Linked DNA regions of Homo sapiens: all the other regions are linked to region 2. Evidence: promoter capture Hi-C in 16 types of primary human blood cells and fetal thymus (Javierre and others, 2016). All regions are on one chromosome and are shown on one strand. The core of a region is centred on a gene start or on the middle of the fragment in contact, and the rest is flanking DNA. Distances in the headings are between cores, read along the strand shown. Region 1 overlaps CCDC142 (coiled-coil domain containing 142). Region 2 holds the start of DUSP11 (dual specificity phosphatase 11). Region 3 has its middle 2.2 kb from the start of SLC4A5.

What was found. The method cuts DNA at HindIII sites, captures the fragments that hold promoters and counts their contacts. A CHiCAGO score of 5 or more calls a contact.
Region 1: a contact is called between a fragment that was not itself captured here and the fragment with the promoter of DUSP11 in region 2, in 1 of 17 cell types (non-activated CD4 T cells). The highest score is 5.5, in non-activated CD4 T cells.
Region 3: a contact is called between a fragment that was not itself captured here and the fragment with the promoter of DUSP11 in region 2, in 4 of 17 cell types (naive CD8 T cells, non-activated CD4 T cells, M0 macrophages and 1 more). The highest score is 6.4, in naive CD8 T cells.

The regions. Positions count from the first base shown.
Region 1 is chr2:74,476,147-74,480,006 of GRCh38, forward strand. The region is part of intron 5 of CCDC142 (coiled-coil domain containing 142); the gene reads right to left. Among named protein-coding and RNA genes, the nearest start is that of CCDC142, 4.9 kb to the right of the region's middle. The HindIII fragment of the contact is 6,387 bases long and covers 1-3,860 here.
Region 2 is chr2:73,777,713-73,781,852 of GRCh38, forward strand. DUSP11 (dual specificity phosphatase 11) reads right to left here and starts at 2,391. Exons shown (of 9, transcript NM_003584.3): 1 at 2,162-2,391; 2 at 589-664. The coding sequence starts at 2,262. RefSeq lists enhancers at 1,883-2,032, 2,163-2,212, 2,293-2,362. The HindIII fragment of the contact is 6,659 bases long and covers 2,059-4,140 here.
Region 3 is chr2:74,343,634-74,347,613 of GRCh38, forward strand. No RefSeq gene overlaps it. Among named protein-coding and RNA genes, the nearest start is that of SLC4A5, 2.2 kb to the left of the region's middle. The HindIII fragment of the contact is 204 bases long and covers 1,255-1,458 here.

The DNA.
Region 1 (3,860 bases), core at 241-2,740, 700 kb after region 2:
GAAATTGAGGGAAGAAAGGGGAATTACAACGACCTTTTATTTTTGAGGCAGAGTCTTGCTGTGTCGCCCAGACTGGAGTGCAGTGGCGTGATCTCGGCTCACTGCAACCTCTGCCTCCCGGGTTCAAGTGATTCTCCTGCCTCAGGCTCCCAAGTAGGTGGGACTACAGGAGTGCACCACCACACCCAGCTAATTTTTGTATTTTTAGTAAAGACAAGGTTTTGCCATGTTGGTCAGGCTGGTCTCAAACTCCTGATCTCAGGTGATCGGCCTGCCTCTGCCTGCCAAAGTGCTGGGATTACAGATGTGAGCCACTAAGCCACTACACCCAGCCTACAATGATCTTTTGGTTATCACCTACAAAAGGAAGACAAGAACTGTATGTAAACCAGAAGCAATGACTATTTGAATGTTCTGAGACTCAGGAAGTTTTGGAATGTCCTTACATTGAAAGGCATTATTATATATTATTATTCTTCACAGCCCACTCCAGAGCAATATAACCCATAAAGCAAGAAAAGGCCTATATGCTGGGTTTGTTTCTTTGGTTTGATAGGTTGTTTTTGGAGGGAGAGAACACAGCAATAAAGCTGGTTTCTGCTCTACAGCCCATCTTGAGGGAGAGGAACCCCAGTAAATGTGGTTAATGGCAGCTGCTCTGTAAAGAAATGGTAGATGCCAGGGAGCCTGAAGACAGGATAGACCTGGGGGCGGCCAGACATGGAGTGGAGCCCATATGGCTCCTGGCACATCTGACAACCTGTCTAAATCCAAAATCTTCCTCTCTTCTCCAGTAAATGCAAGCCCCCTTCTCCTCCCTTATTTATGTCAAGGAAATTGCCCTTTTGTCAACGGACTTTTGTTAGGAGCCTCTGTACTCAACACTGAGGGAATACAAGGTGCAGAGTGTGTGACAGTCTCTCCCCCACCCACTGGGATCTTATAGTCCAAACAGGAAGAAAACTCACAATGCCTCTTTTTTTTTTTTTGAGACCAAGTTTCGCTCTTATTGCCCAGGCTGGAGTGCAGTTGCGCAATCTCAGATCACTGCAACCTCTGCCTCCTGGGTTCAACCGATTCTCATGCCTCAGCCTCTGAGCAGCTGGGATTACAGGCACCCGTCACCATGCCTGGCTAATTTTTGTATTTTTAGTAGAGATGGGGTTTTACCATGTTGGCCAGGCTGGTCACAAACTCCTGACCTCAAGTTATCCACCCATCTCGGCCTCCCGAAATGCTGGGATTACACCCTTCTGCTCTTAAAATGTCACCCCCTCACTTATGAGGTAAAGCGCAAATTGTTGGGGCTGGTGTTCATGCCCTCCACAATTTGATGCCAAATTGCTTACTACCCTACCCCACACCCAACCCCAGTGAACATACCCACAAAAGGAACCTCTGCTCTGGTAAGGCCACCTCTCTGCTACCCCCACAAGGATCTACAAACTGCCCACTTCCAGTAACCCCAGCCACTCCTCTGAGGCTTCCCAGCCACCATCTCCAGCCATAGGCCATGTATGGAGCGTTCTTTAACCACATGCCCACTATAGCCTTCCTTCCTCAGGGCTCTATGACCGTCACTGTGTGCAGTACTCATGATGAGCCTGCTCTGGGGCATGTTGAGTTTAAGTAGACAGCAGTAAACTGAGGTAGAAATGCCCAACAGGCAAATGCAGATGTTTAACTAGAACTCTGGGAGCCAGGCTGGGTGTGGAGGCTCATGCCTGTAATCCCAGAACTTTGGGAGGCCAAGGCGGTGGATTGCTTGAGCTCAAGAGTTCAAGAACAGGGCACATGTTCTCAGATCTCCTGAGGGCTATGTCACGAGCCAAACTTCTAATTAAAAAAAAAATATATATATATATAAATAGATATAATATAAATAAAATATATATAGATATAATATAAATAAAATATATATATATACTTTTTTTTTTTTGAGTCTCACTCTGTTGCCCAGGCTGGAATGCAATGGCACGCTCTCGACTCACTGGAACCTCCGCCTCCCGGATTCAAGTGATTCTCCTGCCTCAGCCTCCCGAGTAGCTGGGATTACAGGTGTACACCACAATGTCCAGCTAATTTTTGTATTTTTAGAAGAGACAGGGTTTCACCATGTTGGCCAGGCCGGTCTTGATCTCCTAACCTCAGATGATCCACCTGCCTCGGTTTCCCAAAGTGCTGGGATTACAGGTGTGAGCCACTGCACCTGGACAAAAAATTTTTTTGTTTTCTGTTTTTTTTTTGAGACAGAATTTTTGTTCTTGTTGCCCAGGCTGGAGTGCAATGGCGCTATCTCGGCTCACTGCAACTTCCGCCTCCTAGGTTCAAGCGATTCTCCTGCCTCAGCCTCAGAAGTAGCTAGGATTACAGGCACCTGCCACCATACCGGCTACTTTTTTGTATTTTTAGTAGAGACGGGGTTTCACCACGTTGGGCAGGCTGGTCTTGAACTCCTGACCTCAGGCGATCCACCCACCTTGGCCTCCCAAAAAAGTTTTTTAAAAAGATTTTTAAAAAGGGTTCAAGACCAGCCTGGGCAACATGGCAAAACCTTGTCTCTACAAAAAAAAAAATTTTTTTAAGTAGCTGGGCATTGGCCGGGTGTGGTGGCTCACACCTATAATCCCAGCACTTTGGGAGGCTGAGGTGGGTGGATCACCTGAGGTCAAGGGTTCCAGACCAGCCTGGCCAACATGGTGAAACCCATCTCTACTAAAAATACAAAAACTAGCTGGGCGTGGTGGCAGGCGCCTGTAATCCCAGCCACTCAGGAGGCTGAGGCAGGAGAATCACTTGAACCTGAGAGGTGGAGGTTGCAGTGAGTAGAGATCACGCCACTGCACTCCAGCCTGGGTGACAGAGTGAGACACCTTCTCAAAAAAAAAAAAAAAAAAAGTAGCTGGGCATTGTGGCTTCCACCTGTGGTTCCAGCTACTCAGGAGGCTGAGGTGGGAGGATTGCTTGAGCCCAGGAGGTGGAGGTTGCAGTGAGCCAAGATCACATAACTGCACTCCAGCCTGGGTGACAGTGAGACCCCATCTTAGAAAAAAAAAAAGAACTCTGGGAGCCAGAAAGACTGAACCCGGGAGTTCACAGCAGCAAGACACTGTGGGTAAGCAGGAATACTGAGAGAAAAGCAGAGAGTTAAGGACTGAACTCTACAGCCACACCCCTATTCGGGGCAAAGAGGAGAAAACTGAGCAGGAAAACAAAAAACCAGACATCTTCCACATAGGAATAGATAAATGTGCAAAATGGGGAAGAAAAAGTATAATGGCTTTATTCATAAACATATAAGAAAATGTTAGGAGAAACAGGCAAACATGGATGAAGGTTACTACTGTGAAATAGAAATCAGAGGTGAGTGAGGGCAAACAAAGTGCTGTTTTTTCATTAGTTTTATAAAATAATATTCTATTTCACTTTTTAAACTATAGACATGCACTATTTTATTTTTTGAGACAGGGTCTCTCACTGTATTGCCTAGGCTGGCTGGAATGCAGTGGCTATCACAGCTTACTGCAGCCTTGACCTCCTGGGCTCAAACGATCCTCTTGCCTCAGCCTCCCAAGTAGCTGGGAGTACAGGCGCATGCCACCATGCTCAGCTAAATTTTTTAATTTTTGGAGAGATGGGAGTCTGTGTTGCCTAGGGTGGTCTCGCTATGTTGCCCCTGGTGGTCTCGAACTCCTGGCCTCAAGCAATGCTCTTGCCTTGGCCTCCCAAAGCATTAATAAAAATACAAATTAAACTTTTAAGAGAGGAGAAATGTGCCGATAACTGGTAAGTAAAGAGAAAGATGCAATCATTTATCCTGAATTTTCTCTCTAAAATATACCTAAGAGTAACCAAATCAT
Region 2 (4,140 bases), core at 1,141-3,640:
CATCCTGAATGGCTTTTGGATGTCCTATTCAAGATTAATATAGATAAAAAGCTGTTCATATTTAGCTTGGCCTCAGAACCTAACTCCATTTCACAAATAAACACAAAGTATTTTTTGTACAATACTAATATATATTGAATTTTCCAGGATAATAATCACCTTATCAACCAAATGAAGATTATACTTTGTTATATTTGGAAATCTATTACAGAAACTCCTACCACTAAAGCAATACAACCCACCTAGATCAGTCTACATTTGTAATTCTTGAATTCATGGCGCAGGCAACTATTACTCTATGTCTTTTAATGTAGTCATGTCCAAACATTTATATATTGAAATAAATATTATTTTATTATAAATTACTTTTATTTTATTTTTTATATTATAGTTAGGGTGTTAATTGGTATTTTTGTTTAAAATATGAAGTAGGTTGTATGTACCTATGAACTTCATTTCAGGATAGTAAAGGGGTCATTACAAAGTATTTGCTATAAAAAGAGAAAATGGAATGTGATAGAGTGGAGAGCAGTGTTCTGCATGGTGAACTCAGATGCCTGAAAGAATACTGAATTAACTTTTGCTTACCTTTTGCAAAGGAACTTTGAAAGCAATGAAACGAGTCCCAGGCATCCGCTGTCCAACTGGGAGATAGTCTTTCCACCTATTAGATATATTTTTTGTTAGCCAAATTGTATGTTAGCCTTGTTTCCTTGCACAAAATAAGACTTTTTGAAAATGGGAATCATAGCCCGCACAACATGTCCTCTCTCCTCTCTGCTTTGCATTTCGCCACTCCACTTATTAAACCCCACCAAGTAACGACCTATACCGTCCTTCTCTCCTGTTTCCCCATCATAAAAACGAACACAAGCCAACACAACAGTACAACTCAAATAAGGCCTATATAAAACCGGAGATACCCAGAACTTCTGTATCCCTGTTAAACTTGGCCCAGTACCAGATACTAAAGTGCCATTAATACAAACATATTCACTGAAATAATTTAAATTCAATTATTTCACTTCACGCTTTTAGTTTTCATACGACTGATGCCATAAAGTTCAATTAGTAGGAAACTTCAAGTTCATATTTTAAGAGAAAACCTGCTAGAAGAGGGACTGTGAACTTCACTTAATAATGCTAGGAACTGGCCGGGCGCGGTGGCTCACGTCTGTTAATCCCGGCAATTTGGGAGGCTGAGGCAGGTGGATCACCTGAGGTCAGGAGTTCGAGACCAGCCTGACCCACATGGTGAAACCCCATCTCTACTAAAAATACAAAAAAAATTAGCCGGGTGTGGTGGCGGGCGCCTGTAATCCCAGCAACTTGGGCGGCTGAGGGAGGAGAATCGCTTGAATCCGGGAGGCGGAGGTTGCAGTGAGCCGAGATTGGACCATTGCACTCCAGCCTGGCGGAGAAGAGCAAAAATCCATCCCAAAAACAAAAACAAAAAAACGGATTGGAAGAAAACAAACAGGAGATTCACTAATTAGAACCCCACTGCAATAAGTCAGGCAAGACCTGTATTAGGGTACTGACAGAAAGTGACAGTCAAAAGATAGTAGATAAAATGAAGAGGATTTATTGAGGTATGAGATGGTGGAGGATGGTCTCAAGGAGTAAAAACAGTTCAATGCACCTACGTGCAAAGTCTCAAAATTAATCATTTGTACGTATAAAGGAGTTATCTTTCAAATGAGGCCTGTTAGGAAGTAACAAAGTATGCTCTTTGTGATTTCTGGAAACAATACAAACCAACTTTCCATGTGAGATCTCAGGGCGCTACTACTGCTGGGTTCCTAACTCAAACCATTACACTTTCCGTGCCAACGTAACAAGGAATTGAGGAGGTTCCATTTTGGGAATTAAGGAGTGTCCCCAACAGTAACAGTCCCACCTTAAAGCAATCCTTCCGTATTTTACCTAAGAGCAATGGCCAGAACCTCCCTTTTACAAGAATATGGAGAAATCACAGGACATCACAGACATCGCCCCTTTCAGCTACAGCGGGTGGCGCAGAGGGTCAAAGCCTCAAAGCAAGCGGCGGACAAGTCAAGCTTGCGATGGCAACGGCGAGAGGCAGAGACCACAAACGATGAAGCCCAGACCCAGAAGCCACGAGCTGGAAAGGCCACGCCAAGGGACCAAGACATACTACCTTTCGGGGATGTGGTTTCCGCCCTTCTTCTTGGCTGAGGAGCGTCCTGAAAAGTCGCGTCTCCGGCCCCAGCCACTGCGGGGATGATGCCACTGGCTCATGTGGGTCCCAAGAAGCCGCCCACCCAATGCCAAGTCGGCCAAAAGCGCCAGTCCGGCGCCCTCAATGCCAGGATAAGACCCTAAACAGGAAAAGACTCGGCAGCCACCTACGCCGCGCTCCAGCGTCTCGCTATTGCGCATGTGCCACCGCCGGTCGTGATGGCGTAGCCACGCTGGCTTACTGAGACTCCTGATCTGTAAACAGGACTTTGGTGGCTACAGCGCCCTCTTTAGCCAGAGGCCAGTAGCACAGGTCAATAAGGGCGTGTATGCACCCTTCAGAATTCAAACAGTGAGGCACAGGGAAGTCCCTCTGCCCGATCCGCCCCACGCCCCGGTTCCTTGTGTGTTCTTCTAGATATTTACCAGCGCTTACATTCACATTTTGCATATTTTGTATACATATTTACTTTCACATATATGTATATCCTCTATTTTTATACAAAAGGAGTAACTGTACATATTCTACAGTATACCTTAAACACTGATTATCCCAGTCAATTTATGCATACATAGATTCTATTTTTAATGGCTATAGGCAATTTACTTGCTTATGAGTAACATAATTAAAAGTACCATAACGTATTTAGCCAGTTCAATATTAATGGACCTTTAGTTGTTTTCAGGTTCTTTTCAAATCTTGTTACAGACAATGCTGCAATGTGAACATCCTTATACATATATACAACTATATCTAAATTCCTAGAAGTAGAATGTCTGGAATGAAACACATACAAACTTAAAATTTGGAAAGATACTACCTAATTACCCTCCAAAAATAATGTAGAAACATACACTCCCATCAAAGCCAAACTTTTATTGGGTTCCTATCACATACCAGGTATCATGCTAGAGGTGGACAGAATGTATTTAAGTTTTAGCAAATACAAAAAATAACTGAGAGTGGAGCTCAAGTCCAAGGTTTCCACACAGTCTCAAGCATAAAGATCTGTACCCGTTAGAAAAACGTTCAATTCTGCTAAAAGTGGAACTACAAAGGACAGCATACCCTATAGCAGCTTTGAAAATAGAATAGAGTACTAAATTCCAGATTAAACTGTAAGTAATTATGATTGCAGACTTTTTTTTTTTTTTTTTGAGACCCAGTCTCACTCTGCCACCAGGCTGGAGTGCAGTGGTGCCATCTCAGCTCACTGCAACCTCCGCCTCCCGGGTTCAAGCAATTCTCCCTGCCTCAACCTCCTGAGTAGCTGGGACTACAGGTGCATGCCACGACTCCCAGCCAATTTTTTGTATTTTAGTAGAGACAGGGTTTCTCCATGTTGGCCAGGATGGTCTCGATGTCTTGACCTCATGATCAGCACTCCTCGACCTCCGAAAGTGCTGGGATTACAGGCTTGAGCCACCGCACCTGGCCAATGGCAGATTTTTGAAAGTAATTTTTACTTCTTAGTTTCTAATTTATGAAAGTAACTTACATATATTTTTAGTAATCTTTGCAACCATTTCAGAGCTGGGTAAACCAAGGATAAGAAAGGTCAGAGCTATTGAATAAATGAATATTAATAAAGCTAGACTGCTAGCTTTATTAACATTTTTGAGACAGTACTTTTCCAACCAGTTTTAAATACATAAACATTTACAATTCTGAAAATTTCCACATCATTAAAAATGTGTCAATATTCATAAATTGTTCATTGGAAAAAGAAAAAGACAGGATAGCAGAACATAACAAACCTACAATTAGGAACATTTAATTATTTGTTGTTGTTGTTGTTGAGATGGAGTCTCTCTCTGTCACCCAGGCTAGAGTGCAGTGGCGCGATCTCAGCTCACTGCAACCTCTGCCTCCTGGGTTCAAGCAATTCTCCTGCCTCAGCCTCTTGAGTAGCTGCGACTACAGGCGTGTGCCACCAT
Region 3 (3,980 bases), core at 107-2,606, 560 kb after region 2:
CCTGTTCAGCTTGTCCCAGCACAACAAAGGTAAGTCATTTGCCTGGGGAGAATCAGCTCTTTTAAATCAGACAATCCTCAGGAAAGATGTCAGGACTTTTGCCTCTTTTCTTCATGGGACTGAGATTCAGGAGAACATTCCACATTCCACTGCCACACAGCTCTGCAAACCCCAAATCCTGACTCTCCGAAGAAGGATATGGGCAAGGAAAACAAAGAAGGCATTTGAAAAAACCAAACCTTGCAAGAAAAACTTTGCGTACTTGGTGATTTTTCCAGGTTTATCCTGACTTTTGGCCTCTGTTTTTATGAATTCCATTTTTGTTTAAGTGAAAAAGATACGGTGAGAGAGACATAGTGGAAAATGGGAAGTTTGGAGGAAGATGGGAAGGAAGAAGCCAGTGAGTAGGAAGTGAGAATCGGGAGTGGAGGGAGTGAGGGACGCGGTGCTGAGCGATGGGGAAGAGAAGCATGCCAGGAAGGCGCAGCGTCTCTGGGCACCCAGCATGGGGCCTGGTATATGCACACATTTCCCCTCATTGAACTCTCAACAGTCCAGTGGGGAGAGCATTCTCGTCCCCAACCTTACAGAGCTGGAACAGAAGCTCAGAGACTTACAGACAGGAAGAAAAGTAGGAGCTGGAAGCCCCATTAAAAAAGCAACTCTACCCCTCTTCTTCCAGTCTCTTCTGTGGCTTCTCTAAGGGTCTTCAGCCTCCTTATTTCAGGGTTGACCTTCTCTTTCAGATAGGAAATTTATCATCTGGTTGGATATCCTCACTTTCTTCCTAGATCACGTGGAGTTTTCCCTTAGTGGAAAAGCCTCATTCCTGGATCTAGAGCCTGCTGGTGGCAGACATGTAAAAAACATGTTTCGGAGGCCATGCCCAAGCCAACACATTAACCCAACATTATAGTTTCTGTTAATAATCCATGGAATCAAAGACAGGCAAGACTAGGGAGATCAACACATGCTGGGTCACCAGAGGCTTTCCTGGTTTTAGCACAGAAGATCTGTGACCCAGGAAACCCCTTAGTCCCAGGAAGATCAGCACAGCCTAGGCCAGAAACAGTTTCGGGCCTTAGGGAATTTCCAGCTGGTTGGGGATTCAACAAATTCAGAAGAGTGTGAGGCTCCAAAAAGAAGCACAAAGGGAGGGAAGGGTTCAGTGAAAGAAAAATCACCCTTGTTTGGAGGATTACCTTGTTCCACAAATGTTCATGGCTTACCTACCAGCCCCATGTGTTAAAGAAAAGCTTTGTGGAGAAAATGGCCTTGGAGATGCAGTGAAGGGATAGGATAGGGGTAGGATTTAGAACAGTAGAACTACCAAGGGGTATCTGAGGCAGAGGGAAGAAGCCACAAAAAATATAGACATAAGAGGTGGGAGAACATAGCATAAATATCCTGAGAACTGGAGAGCAGTTTCCCTGGCACAGGGCAGGTTTGGGGAAATAAAGCTTTGGGCATGCGACGATAGGCTGGGTAGTCTATGGAGAGGTGTAAACATCAGCAAACATGTCTGAAGTGAAAGGAATGTGGAAGGGGACTTGGTACAAGAATGGAATAATGGACTTCACAGTGGATTGTAGCACAGGTGGAAAGACCAGTTGAGACGTTACTGCCAAGCATTCAAGTGAAACCCTTTGGTTTCTACCTACCCAGGTTTTGTTCAAATAATTTGGACATTTATTTCAGACACTTCAGGTTTGGGGTTTTTTTGTCTCTCACTTCACACAGGAATTTGAGGGTGAGCTTCATCTGGTTTGGTGAGGGTATTGGAAGGTATGGGGCAGGGGCTGTCCCTCCAGGATGCACAAAGGGAACAGGTTTGCAGGCTCAGGAATCCTCCTAATGGAGGAAGGAGGAAGGAGGGAGGAGGACCTGCCCTGGCAGCACCGTGCTTTCTTCCTCGTGTCTAGTGTCCACTGGGATTTGGCTGCTGCACTGCTTGTCTCCCTGTCCAGACCTAATGCCTCGTTAGCTGTTAACCAAAGCATGTTCCTTACTTATTTGAGAGGCTTTCTACCTTGCCAGAGAAAGACAGCCATTTGAATGTTCTCTGTGAGAAAAGGGAAAGGCAGTGTGGCGGTGTGAGACCACAGCCTGAAGTCCCCGACTGCCACCACCTGCCACAATATCCTGCTGCCACTCCCCAGCTCTGCTGTCTCTAAGCCTCAGTTTCCCACATGAACCAGGCGACTAAAGTGGGGATGGCAGATTTTCTCTCAGAAGGGAAAAGTGCTAGGCGTCAGGTCCAAAGAAGTATACTGTAAACCCCTCCTCGTATTCCAGCACTGCTTTGGAATGCTTTTTTTTTTTTTTTTTTTTTGCTTTGGATATTTTTCCTTTTTACTTTTTTTTTTTCAAGTTCTCTCATGAGGTTGCATACTTTACTTTTTTTCATTTAAAAAATGTAGTTCCAGTTGGACTTAGGGAGGAAAGAGAAGTAAATGTTAACAGTTCACTTTACAATCTTGAACGAATTTTTTACTTAAGGTTGATTTAACTTGGTAAGTGTATTTTTTGTGAATTTCCTATTCATATCTATGTTTCTATTGATGTGTTTCTTTTTTCTATTTATTTATTTATTTATTTATTTTTGAGATGGAGTCTCACTCTATCACCCAGGCTGGAGTGCACTGGCCACCATCTCAGCTCACTGTAACCTCTGCCTCTCAGGTTCAAGTGATTCTCATGCCTCAGCCTCCCAGGTAGCTGGGATTACAGGCATGCGCCACCATGTCAGGCTAATTTTTGTATTTTTAATAGAGATGGGGTTTCGCCATGTTGGCCAGGCTGGTCTCAAACTTCTGGCCTCAAGTGATCCACCTGCCTCAGCCTCCCAAAGTGCTGGAATTACAGGCATGAGCCACCACTCCCAGCTTCTTTTTCCTATTTATTTGTAAAAGTTACTTATTTATGTTATAAATATTTTTCTTTTTCTTTGTTTTTAGAGAAAGGGTCTTGCTCTGTCACCCAGGCTGGAACGCAGTGGCGCGATCACAGCTCACTAAAACCTCAAACTCCTAGGCTCAAGAAATCCTCCCGCCTCGGCCTCCCAATTATAGATATTTTTCTGTTTGTCATTTGTCATTCAATTTTGTTTGCAGTCTTTTTCTTTTTCTTACAGGAAGGTTTAATACGATGTGTGTGTGTGTGTATTTTAATAAAGTCAAATTTATCCATATTATTCTTTAAGGTTTCTAGTTTTGTTGTCAATCTTAGAAAAGTTTTAGCCATCCCCAACTTTATATACAAAATAAATTTTCTTTATATAGAAAATCTGTATGTTCTAAATTTTCTTCTAGTTCTTTTCCGGTATTGCTTTGTATATTTAAATATTCAATCCATCTGGACTTTGGTATATGGTGTAATATGAGGATTTAACTTGTTTTTCCCAAGTGTTAAATCACCATTTGTAAAATTATGTACCCTGTACCCACCATCCTACACCCTCCTTCCCAAAGGGGCAGACTGAAATCCAGCCGAGGGGACCCATCCTGCTTGATCACATACTGATGTTTCTATGTGCTTGAGTCTGTTCTCAGCCAACCAACCTGATAGTAGGCCCCGTGCCCAGTTTCCCTTTCTTACCACTCACTCATCCCTCAAACCACTGTGTTCTGATTTCTGCTCCTTACTGGTCACAGACATTTCTGTGGCAAAGCTCATCATCAAACTTCTAATTGCCAAGTGGACAATTAGACAGTGGACACTTTTCAGATCTTTGCTTGATAGACCTCTCTATTACATCTGGTGTTATTGACAATTCTTTCCTCTTTTTTTTTTCCTGTTTGTTTTGCTTGGTATATTTTACAACTTGTGGGCCATTCAGTATGTGCATATTTATCTTTGTTAAATACGGCCACATTGTTTTCCAGAGTGGCTGTAGCACTTCACACACCTACTAGCAGTGTGTGTGTCTAACTGGATTATTTAAGGATAAGAGTTGGGAGATCTGGGATGCTCTGGTTTTC